3 separate regions of the Homo sapiens genome follow, and all the other regions are linked to region 3. Evidence: promoter capture Hi-C in 16 types of primary human blood cells and fetal thymus (Javierre and others, 2016). All regions are on one chromosome and are shown on one strand. Each heading gives the region's core, a stretch centred on a gene start or on the middle of the fragment in contact. The rest is flanking DNA. Distances are from core to core; before and after follow the strand shown.

What was found. The method cuts DNA at HindIII sites, captures the fragments that hold promoters and counts their contacts. A CHiCAGO score of 5 or more calls a contact.
Region 1: a contact is called between a fragment that was not itself captured here and the fragment with the promoter of CUL3 in region 3, in 4 of 17 cell types (naive B cells, total B cells, monocytes and 1 more). The highest score is 8.7, in naive B cells.
Region 2: a contact is called between a fragment that was not itself captured here and the fragment with the promoter of CUL3 in region 3, in 1 of 17 cell types (erythroblasts). The highest score is 8.2, in erythroblasts.

The regions. Positions count from the first base shown.
Region 1 is chr2:223,833,279-223,837,183 of GRCh38, forward strand. The region is part of intron 1 of AP1S3 (adaptor related protein complex 1 subunit sigma 3); the gene reads right to left. Among named protein-coding and RNA genes, the nearest start is that of AP1S3, 2.4 kb to the right of the region's middle. RefSeq lists an enhancer at 3,711-3,800. The HindIII fragment of the contact is 4,436 bases long and covers 1-3,828 here.
Region 2 is chr2:223,994,754-223,998,582 of GRCh38, forward strand. It overlaps SERPINE2 (serpin family E member 2), which reads right to left. Exons shown (of 9, transcript NM_001136528.2): 3 at 3,362-3,589. Among named protein-coding and RNA genes, the nearest start is that of MRPL44, 39 kb to the left of the region's middle. The HindIII fragment of the contact is 4,324 bases long and covers 159-3,829 here.
Region 3 is chr2:224,583,846-224,587,762 of GRCh38, forward strand. It overlaps CUL3 (cullin 3), which reads right to left and starts at 1,518. Exons shown (of 16, transcript NM_003590.5): 1 at 1,099-1,518. The coding sequence starts at 1,164. RefSeq lists silencers at 982-1,241, 1,572-1,991. The HindIII fragment of the contact is 1,789 bases long and covers 503-2,291 here.

The sequences.
Region 1 (3,905 bases), core at 361-2,860, 750 kb before region 3:
TACATAAACAACATAATCCTCCTTCATTGCCAACCATTCAACAGTACATTCTGCCCCATAAGCCTTTTTAAACACACTGGGCTCAGCTCGTGGGATTCCTGAAGTGCAATAGCCCTAACACTGTTTTCCAAGGTAGAGATTTCTAAAAGGTGAGATGGAGTACACAGTTGCTTCAAACAGTGTGATCCAGATACAAACACAGTCCCAACATGCACCAGATATGAAATCTCTGTGCCAGAAACCAGGGTCACTGGCACCATGGAATCAAGAACCATTTTCTGTGTGTAAAGTACTAGGTGCCTAGATCTGCCAGTAAGCATCTACCAGTTTCCTAGCATAAAAGTCAGCAAAAGTCAGGAATGAAGCAGCAGGAAAGACAGGGAGTTACACAGTGAGCCTCAACAAAGGTCTCAGAGCAGCTGGGCACTAGCGAGGGCCGCCAATTCTTTCTTACAACTTGAAGGTAATAACAGAGGAGAGGTGATGGTTACTGAGCATTTACAATGGCAAAGCTGTTTGAAGCGCCTTCACACGCATTCACTTATGGTACCTGTTAAACTCCGGGACAGTGATTATGAAACTTTTTGGATGCCTTTACACTCTTTTTATTTATTTATTTATTTATTTATTTATTTATTTATTTATTTGAGATGGAGTTTTGTTCTTGTTGCCCAGGCTGGAGTGCAATGGCACGATCTTGGCTCACCACAACCTCCACCTCACGGGTTCAAGCGATTCTCCTGCCTCAGCCTCCCAAGTAGCTGGGATTATAGGCATGCGCCACCACACCCAGCTAATTTTGTATTTTTAGTAGAGACAGTGTTTCTCCATGTTGATCAGGCTGGTCTCAAATTCCTGACTTCAGGTGATCCGCCTGCCAATCCCAAAGACCTTTTTGTTTATGTGGGTTATATCCACTGATATTTATTGTATTTGAAATTAAAATGAAAAAATAGATATTAACATATTTTAAAATAATACGACTTGGGCAACATAGGTAGGCTTCATTTCTACAAAAAGTAAAAAATTCCACTGGGCCCAATTGTTCATGCCTATAATCTCAGCACTTTGGGAGGACAAGGTGGGAATATTACATGAGTTCAGGAGTTCAAGACCAGCCTAGGCAACAAAGTAAGACCTCATTTATACAAAAATCAAAAAATTACCTGGGCATGATGGCACACACCTGTGGTCCCAGCTACATGGAAGGCTGAGGTAGGAGGATGCCTTGAGTCCACTGGGTTGAGGCTGCAGTAAGCCATGTTCATGCTACTGCACTCTACTCTGGGTGATAGAACAAGCCTTGTCTCAAAATAAATAAATAAATAAATAGCTGGGCATGGTGGGACATGCCTACAGTCCCAGCTACTCAAGAAGCTGAGGTAGGAGGGTTGCTGGAGCCTAGGAGGTTGAGGCTGCTGTGAGCTGTGATCACACCACTGCACTCAGCTTGGGCGACACAGAGACCCTGTCTCAAAAATAAATAAATAAAAAGAAAAAACAATAGTAAACCTATTACACATTAAACATAAATAACATTTTTATGACCAATAACAATATTTTTCCAAAGCAAAAAAAAAATTAGTGAAAAGCATGGCACTGTTTTACAATTTTGCAAATCTCCTTAATGTCTGGGCTTATCAAAGACAGTTGGACTTTCCTATCTGCATCTGTGTTCAATCTGTTGTACTATCTCAGCTTATGTAGACACAAGAAAACTTCACTGTAGTCTTGTGAGAATGAGAATGAAATGGGAAAATTAATATCTTAGTATTATTATGAAAATAGTTTTGACCTTGCAGACCTCCAGTAAAAGTCTTGGGGACTGCTGGGGGTACCCAGGTCACACTTTCAGAACCTCTGCCTTATGAGTTAGGAGATATTATCTCCATTTTTCAAATGGGCAAACTGAGACAGAGAGGTCAAGGAATTGTCCAAGGCCATACTGCTAGAATAGCTCAGAGTAGCTAAAATGCAATGAGCATAACAGATTTAACCTCAATTGTTTGTTGCAAGGATTGAATGAGATCGTGAATATAAAGAGCAGGACATCCTGCTTGTCTTATCACAAATGCCCAATAACATTAATGTTTCCCCGCCAGGTGCGGTGGCTCATGCCTGTAATGCCAGCACTTTGGGAGGCCGATGCAGGTGGATCACGAGGTCAGGAGTTTGAGACCAGCCTGGCCAACATGGCAAAACCCCGTCTCTACTAAAAATACAAAAATTAGCTAGGCGTGGTGGCGGGCGCCTGTAATCCCAGCTACTTAGGAGGCTGAGGCAGGAGAATTGCTTGAACTCGGGAGATGGAGGTTGCAGTGAGCCAAGATCATGCCACTGCACTTCAGCCTGGGTGACAGAGCAAGATTCCGTCTCGAAGAAAAAAAAATAATAATAATGTTTCCCATTTAGCAAAAACTGGTAGAAAAGCTGGAGAAACTTCCCACATTTCTGATCAACTCATCACACATATGACACCAGCAAGAAAAAATAAAACTCCACCACAGGTATTGTCCAGAGGAGCAGCTTTTCCTTATAGACCAAACCTTGGCCCATTCCTCAGCACAAAAGCAGCCTTTGATGACTCAGAAACGCAGGGCCTTATTCCAGCCTCTGTTAGGCAAATTACACTGGTGGACTGGGCATCTGTCACCTTGTTCCTTGGGAAACTTGAGCAAGCCAAGAAACCTGCTCCATTATTTACAGCATTGTTTTTGCATCACGCTGTATTTACAAGGAACCCTCAACAGACAAAAATGATGCCGCTAGTGTGTGCAGCCAAACCTTTAACAGAAACCAGCAACTGCGGTCTTGCTGGCCAGGTGCTCAGCACTCCCCGGCTCTCTTTGTTGATCAACTTTCTTAGCCCACGTGGCCCACCCACTCCTGCCTCCGGTGGGCCCACAGGGTGCAGGTCACTTCCCTTCTGCGGATTTGGGAAGTGGTAACACACTTGGGGAAGTGGGACTAGTGACGTTCAGACCACCACACTCTTAAAAGGCTGCCCCTAAACAGCAGGCAAGAGCAAGAGGAGCCTGAGCTATCGCTTCCACCCAAGTGCAGGTCACCAGATCTCTCATCAGCAGGGCTGCGGCCGGCCTCAGCTTCCAACCTGACCCCCTATCCCCTGCCCTTACACACCCCAGTCCATTCTCCAACCACAGCCAAACTGCACACCATGCCGGGTGCAGTGGCTCACCCCTGTAATCCCTACACTTTGGGAGGCCGAGGCAGGCGGATCACCTGAGGTCAGGAGTTCGAGACCAGCCTGGCCAACATGGTGAAACCCCGTCTCTACTAAAAATACAAAAATTAGCTGGGTGTGGTGGCACACGCCTGTAATCCCCGTTACTCGGGAGGCTGAGGCAGGAGAATCGCTTGAACCCGGGAGGCAGAGCCGAGACCACACCACTGCACTTCAGCCTGGGCGACAGAGCGAGATCAGTCTCAAAAAAACAAAAGTGCACAACGGGTAAGGTCAGTTTTCTTGCTAAAACGTCCCCGAGGTTTCCCCTACTCAGTTGGAACCAAAACCAAACTCCTTATTTTGGCCTATAAAAACCCGCCTCACCTGGCAGAAGCCCACCTCTCCTGCCACAAACAAGGCCTTCTCCCCTCCGCTTTGCTCTCTCTAATCCACCTGTAGCGCCCCTCCAGGACCTCCAGCAGCTAGAATGTCATGTCCTTGAAGAGGCTTTGCCAAATCAAAAGTTGCCACTCCACCCGGTTGTATTTGAGACTTTACAGCGCTTCTTACTTTAGAAGTTCTCTTCATTTTACTTGTATATTGGACGTGTCCCTCCCTCCGCATCCCCCTCCTGGAAGGTAAGCTTCCTGGAGAACAGGGGCTCCTCCTGGTCCCCCGCGACATCCCCAGCGCCCAGCACCGAGCCCGGCACAGACTA
Region 2 (3,829 bases), core at 1,071-3,570, 590 kb before region 3:
ACACTGGTTGAACATTTACTAAGTGCAGAGTCCTTTGCTAAATGCTTTCTATGTATTATTCACATCCTCACACCAGCCTTAATTGTTGTTAGAATTATTTGAATAGGTATCACTATTACATCTCTCCATTTTACAGACGAGAATGCTGATGCAAAGCAAGCTTAAATAACTTGCCCAAGGTTATACAGGTAGTATGTGGCAGAACCGAGATTCAAACTCAGAATGTGTGCTTTTAATGTTCATGCCTGCCACTCATGGTATGGTACAGAAATGAGTTGGCCTTAACCAGGGAAGAGGGAGAGAAGGCAGCAGGAGTGTATGTGTGCGGTTCTCCAACAGGAGACAGGATGGTGGGTAAGGGGACTAGGAAGAGGCCTGTGTGGCTGGAACATAGAGTACAAGGATGAGTGAGTCTGCAGAGGTCAACAGGCCAGACCCATCCCTGATGGGTCTCCTCCTGCAAAAGGCCTGCGCGTTGGGCTCTCCCACTCTCTGTAGGGAAGGAACTATCATTTCCGTGAGACAGACCCAGCAACCTTCCAGACACAAACAGTTGAGCTCCAAGTCACTTCTGAGCTCTACCATGTGGTCATGTACCTTTCAGTGGGGGCAGTTCACCCCCAGGTAAAGGCAGTTTGGAATTTGGCAGGGATGTTTTTAATTGAGTGGGCAGTGGCCAGAAATGCTATCTGTCCTGCAATGTTCAAAACAGTCCCACCCAATGAAGAATTGTGCTGCTTCTCCCGTGGCTTTTCAATACCCCACCGGATCTCTGCATTGGTAGGACACCTACTTATAATTATCTGAGCCCAGAACCTCGTTCTTTTTCGTGTGTAAACACAGGGTGTTTTGGGTTTTTTGTTTTTGTTTTTGTTTTTGTTTTTGCATCCTTTTCATGTATGCTGAATTTGCCAGGAATGTGAGTCCCACGCAAATCAAGCAGAGCCTGTGCTTTGTTTTGTTCAGAAATTTATCAAAAGTCTTGCACCGTTTCAGAAAAAATTGCATCAGCAATAGTTAACACAGCTCATGTTTATGAGTCACCAGGACAACATGCCTGTCTCTGTCTGCTTTTGTAGCTGTCAATTCACAATTATTCTGAGACTCTGACTACTTTATTACGTATTTGAGTGTAGTTGTACCCAAGGGTTTACCTATTGAACTACATATATACATTTCTTTTGTTTTCCTTTGTATTACAGTTTGGCACTGTCTCAAATTTTTAAAAATTTGTGTGTGTGCATAGAGTAATATGATGTATGAATTTCATTTCAGAATAGTAAAGAGAGTATTAAAAATATTTGTTACAAACGGAGGAGCTGGGGCTGACAGGGCTGCAAAGTGCTGCAGGAGTCTCCATGCTTCTTCCCAGCACACGTGGGGGTTTTCTCCAGGTGCTCTGAAGACTGTCACATGGTCTAACTAATGTGGTTTAATATTGCCATTCTACAGATCAAGGCAGCGGCTAAGAGGACAAAATGACATGTCACAGTCACACAGCCTCCAGCCACAGAGTCAGGACCAAGAACCAGTCCTGAGGGCGTCTGCTTCTGACCACTCTTCACAAGCCTACAGATGCCAGACACCTGGAGACTCCACTGAACACCCTCATGTGTGCTGACCTCCCGATGGTTTATGGTTTTAGGAAGGGCGCCCAGACTGCATGGTCCAGGCCCCACTGAGAAGGGACGCCACGAATTTACCCAAGTCACCTGGGGTCTCCTCCACCCTCCCTGGAGCCTTCTTTGTCCACCTCTTCACTAGTTCTGCTAATGGGTCTCCAACATCTGGGTGTGTAAGAATGGTGATGGGAGGCAGAGGCAGACTGGGAGTTGCCAGCCACTCCCTCGGCGATTCCAATGCAGTGGGCTGGGCTCCAGGGATCTGCCTTCTCAACACATAGCCCAGATAATTCTGATGCAGGGACACCAGTAACCACACTTTTAAGAAACATAGCCTGAAAGGCGACAGTTTCCCTAGGTTTTGTCTTTGGGCTTCTTCTTCCTATTGACTCTCTCCCTTCTATGAAAAAAGGCTCTATAGCCAGGCACAGGGGCTCATGCCTATAATCCCAGCACTCTGGGAGGCTGAGGCGAGAGGACTGCTTGAACCCAAGAGTTCGAGACCAGCATGGGCAACACAGTGAGACCCCACCTCTTCAAAAAATAAAAAAATTAGCCAGGCATGGTGGCGCACACCTGTAGTTCCAGCTACCGGAAAGGCTGAGGTGGGAGGATTACTTGAGCCCAGGAGGTTGAGGCTGCAGTGAGCTATGATTGCACCACTGCGCTCTAGCCTAAGAGACAGAGTGAGACCCTGTCTCCAAAAAATTAAAAATAAAAAAAAGGTCCCAAATCTGTACTCCCATCCTTCACATTCTCCTGTTGTTCCAGACCTACAGCTCCTCCTGCATGTTTCCAACTGGACCTCCACGTTACAAATTAAGGTTTTTTTGTTTTTTTGTTTCTTTTTGTTGTTGTTGTTTTAGACACAGTCTCATTCTGTTGCCCAGGCTGGAGTGCAGGGTTGCAATCTCGGCTCATTGCAATCTCCCCCTCCCAGGTTCAAGCGATTCTCCTGCCTCAGCCTCCCAAGTAGCTGGGATTACAGGTGCCCGCCAGCATGTCTGGCTAATTTTTGTATTTTTAGTAGAGATGGGATAAACCATGTTGGCCAGGCTGGTCTCGAACTCCTGACCTCAGGTGATCCACCCACCTTGGCCTCCCAAAGTGCTGGGATTACAGGTGTGAGCCACTGCACCTGGCCTACAAATTAAGTTTTAAAACACCAACGTTAGACTCTCCTTTATTTAATGGGAGAAGAGACACTTACAAATGAGTAATCATTTTGAGATGTGGAAAGGGCTGTAATCGGGGGGGTGTAAAAGTTGTAATCATGTGCCAATCATAACGGACAACAGGGTACCTATGTCTTTGGCAATGGCAGAAGCAAGAGGCATGGAAGGCAAAGAGATCAATCAACCTGGAAGGATGAGGAGGACATTCCAGGTAAAGGGAGAGGCAGATGCAAAAGCAGGAAGGAATGAGCAAGAAAACCTTCAAAATCAACAAGAGCCTGTGGGCAAGGATGCTGGAGACCAGATATGGCAAGGAGAGGAGACAGTGGAGGGGCTGGATTCTGTTCTGTTGCCCAAACTACAGGAGAAACACCTCCCAGGAGCACAGTGAGCAATGGCAGATTGAAGGGGAAGGAGGGAGACTGAATAGAGCTTCCTTGGTCCAGGAGTTTCTCAACCCACAGGCCATTGAATTGGACTTGCAGACACCACTTTGAACCCTGGAGTCTAACTCATGCTTCATTCACAAACTATGCAATCAAATGACATACTGCGGCCACTCACCCCTGGTTTCATTTTTAACCCATGCATTGATGGAATCACAGGCAGAGGCTGGATCCTCAAAGTTCACATTCCGGACCTCACACTGGAACACATCTTTGTTCCTTGTAACAAAAGGCACTTCAATTTCAGAGGCATTCTTAACAAACACGGCGTTAGCCACTGTCACAATGTCTTTATTCTTCTTGGAGACGATGGCCTTGTTGATCTTCTTTAATATTTTACCAACTCCTAAAAGAGAAATCAGAAGATACAGCAATACTTCCATAAGAATCTAGAAAAGTTTTTAAAATCTTTTATGTTGCAGCAAGTAAGAACAGTATAGGCCAGGTGCAGTGGCTCACACCTGTAATCCCAGCAATTTGAGAGGCTGAGGTGGGTGGATTGCTTGAGCTCAGGAGTTTAAGAACAACCTGGGTAATATGACAAAACCCTGTCTCTACCAAAAATACAAAATTAACTGGGTGTGGT
Region 3 (3,917 bases), core at 268-2,767:
AAAGTGACAACAAATCCCCCTCTTTCGCTGGTACATCATATGAAGTATTTATGAATCTAAGAAGGGAAGACCAAGATCTTTCTCTAATTTTACTTTTTAAAATCTTCTGTCCGATTGCTAGTTCGTCTGTCTTGACGTATGCCTTTTATTGTAGCGACATAGGCAAGTATGCCCAGTTCGTTAACAGTACATTTTAATTGCTTGCCACGGGGAAGCTGAACCAGATTTGACACCCAAAGTTATATCCTATATACTAAACATCGCAAGGGTACGACTCAACGTAATGCCAAAAAAGAAAAAGTTTCTGAGCAGAACACGTTTGCTGTCACTGAAAGCGATGAAACAAAGCTACTCCGCAAGGCGACTACACTCATTCTTTGGGCTCCCAAGGCTGAGAAATGGAGAACCAATTGGCCGGTTTGCTCTCTGTTGCTTCCCCCCCACCCGGCCTTCCTCCGAGTGGCGAGGCAATCCTGCACAAGAGTTTGTAAAGTGCTTAGGAAGCTTGTAGGATGAAAGACGCTATAAATACACCCAATGTTACTAGTTTATGACCACGGAGCATTCCGTGGAACCACTGTCACTGCGTCGGGGGCAGGTTGATGGCATAGACCTTCCTGGGGAGGGGGGCAGAGAGAGAGGGCAGCCCCTTCATCACCCTAAAAGCTAGGCTGGGTAAATTTTCAAAGTGTAGCGAAACCCCACGTGAAAAGTTCCACACACGCCCCACACAGGGAGGACTCCGCGGCTGCTAGCAGCGCCGGAGACTGGGCCTACAACCCCGGCAACGTGGGGAGGCGTGGGGCGGCCGAGGGGCCCCGGCCGCAGCCGACGCCCGCGGAGCGGCTGAAGGAGCAGCTCCCGGACGGGGGCGCGGCGCCAGGCCCGGGCTCCCGGCGCGGGGAACGGCCCGGGAGGGCGGCCGCGCCGGGGCCCCGCGCCGCCCGGTTGCCGGGAAGGCTCGCGCCCCGCGGCCGGCGGGCGTGGGGGAGGGGAGGCCGGGCCTGCGGCCTGTTGGGGGACTTCAGCCCGGGCCTCGCGTGCGGCTCTCGGCCCGGCCCCCGGCCCCGGGGTCCCGGACGCCGAGGAGAGACTCACCGGAAAGGCCCGGATCCGCATCTTGGTGTCCTTCCGGCTGCCCGTGCCTTTGCTCAGATTCGACATGGTGCTCGTCCCCTCCCCGGCGGCGGCTTCAGGTCGCGCTCCGCGACGCCGGTGTCACATTTAAGGCGGGCAGGCAGGCTAGGGGCGACGCTGGGGGCGGCGGCGGCGCGACCCCCGGGCAGGGCTGGGGAGCTGGCCGGCCCCTGGGCAGCCGCGGCGGCGGCGGGGGCGGCGGCGGCGGCGGCGGCGGCTCGGACTCTGGCGACTCCGATGCGGCTGGGGGGCTGCGCTGGCGCGGCGGCTCCGCGGGGTCCCCCTCACGTCCGGCTCGGCTCCCTTTATCGCGCTCCTCCGCGATGGCGGCGGCGGCGGCGACGGACAAACATCTCACTGCGCAGGCCGAACGTCGTCCTCCTCCTCCTCCTTCTCCTCCTCCGCCTGAGCGAGACGAGATCCGGCCCAGAGGGTGGAGGGGGGAGGAGGGAGGGAGGAGAGCCGGAGAGTGAGAGATGCCGGGGGAGGGAGGTGGGAGGACGGGAGGGGGAGCCCGGCGGCCGCCGCGGGGGACGCTCAGATCTCGCGAGAAGAGGGCGAGCGCGCTGCCCCCCTGGTGGGCGGGGCGAAGCCCGGGAGAGGGTGGGCGCCACCGGAGGGGAGGAGGGGAACAGGGAACTGAAGGAAGTGGGAGGGGCCGGCGGGGCGGGGAAGCGGAAAGGGGGCGTGGCTGAGGGCGGGAGGATTAAGCTGCCTTTTTGAAAGTGGAGCGCCAGGTCCCGGGTTCTGGGTGGAGGTGGTTGCTGATTGGTGGAGCTCGGAGCGGCGGTTGGGAGGGTCCTGGTCACATGGTGGGGAGTGGGAGGGGGGAAGTTCGGAGAGCGGGAGCGGGATGGTAGTGGGCTGGGCCCCACTGGGCTGGGACAGCAGGAGGATAGTCTTGAGGAGGAGCGTGGGGTGCTAGATGTGTAACTACGTCCCGAACTGGTTCCTGTGTTTTTCTAGGGCATGTGGACTAGGGATGGGTACTTGAGTAGAAGCCTGCAACTTGAAGAGTTTGTGCAGGAGTTAGCTGCAGTGTCGGAAATTAGTGTCCTGTATGCTCAACAAGGTATTCGGACTGGGTGTGCACACCACAGCTCTCAGGACTGGAAGGTGGAAATTTAATCTACGAAGTTCCCTTAAACTGCATAAGCTTCGGGACCTCTTGATTCACTGATATTTTCTGGTGGACCCAGGGCTTATTCATGTTAAAACCTGTTTTTCATTACCATCAGAATAAACTGACAGCTCCATTAATGAAATGCAGCATTTGGTAAATAATGTTAAGTGGAATGATAGAAACCTATCTTTAACCTACCGGATAAATCATTTCTACCATTACCAAGAGTATTGTAGATTTTTAAAGCCAAAATTACCGTCTGATTCAGTTGCTGTATATTTGAAAAGGTTTTGGCTTTTGGTTTTGGAGGAGAGGCGTTTGGTCGCTTTATAGTCAAAATGTCTAATTTGACTTATCGGTTTTGCTGTCCATTTGTTATGAATTGTACTTCCTCATTTACCTACTTGCCCAATTGCTGTTATGTTTGGGTTTCTGACTCTGCAAGGGAATACGTGAGTTCTTATTAAAGTTTGTGTTCTTCCTATTTTAAAGAAGCATATGTTTGGGGGATGGATATCTACATTTAGAAGCTGGAATTTTAATACTTTTAAATAGCAAACAATATAAAGTGAAATACACTTATTTGTTGACTGTAAGGTTGAATTTGCCCTAAATTAACTTAATCCTGATGACTAAGCTTATGAGTGTTGTGCTTAAAGCCCCTTCTTGCTTAAAACGCCCCACTGCAAATACCATATTTTCTTGTTTTTTTTTTTTTTTTGTGGGAGTTTTTTGGTATTGGCTAATTAAAGCAGGAGCTTAAGAAACAAGAATGTTGCTTAAGACAATATCTGTAAATACTGAAGCTAAAAATAGGTTATCAAGAACTGAGTTGATAAACTAAGATTGGGAGAGGCTCTGACTTCAATGTAAGATAATGTCAGCCTTGAATAGGAGTTTATAATCTCTATGCTAATTGAACCTCCATTTCCATAACATAATATAATAACAAACAATGTTTTTCTCTTGGTTGTACTCTCATATGGCCCAGTTTCTTTGTAATGTAAGAATATATGTTCAGAATAGGGATCTCTGAGGAACCAAAAAAAGAAATAAAAAAATATTTTAAAAAAGAATATGTGTTCTTGGAGCCATTGTTTGAATCTCAATTCTGCCACTTTACTAGCTGTGTTTTGCATCTTTTGGGGCATGGAGTTGACAATCCCCAGAATTTCTCATCTGTAAAAGGGAGACAATAACAATACTTCCTCCTTGGGCTACCGTGAAATTTAAATAGATGAATACGTTTTAAAGAGCCCTGAGAACTGGGCATGGAGCAGCAACTTACCACCTGTTGGCTGTTATTAACATGGGCATTAAAGCCAAGGTTATACTACTTCCTTTATTCAATAGGTAGGTTTCTAAACAACAACAACAAAAAACACTTGTATGCTTTTATAAAATGAGTCATATTTTGAAACTAAGCCAGTCTCCGACATTTGGATCTCTCAGACTAATAAAATATTTTCTGATAAGCTAGGGAGTCATTATAGATTTGGCAACTTTATATTGGCAAGGGTATTAAAAAGGAACAACTAGCATAGATTATTCCCATCATTTATTAAAAAGTATTTTAACCTCAGAAATGAGGGAAGATCCATTTTTGAATAAAGGACAGTTCCTTGAATTGAACAGCCTCGTAATGAACAATACGTCA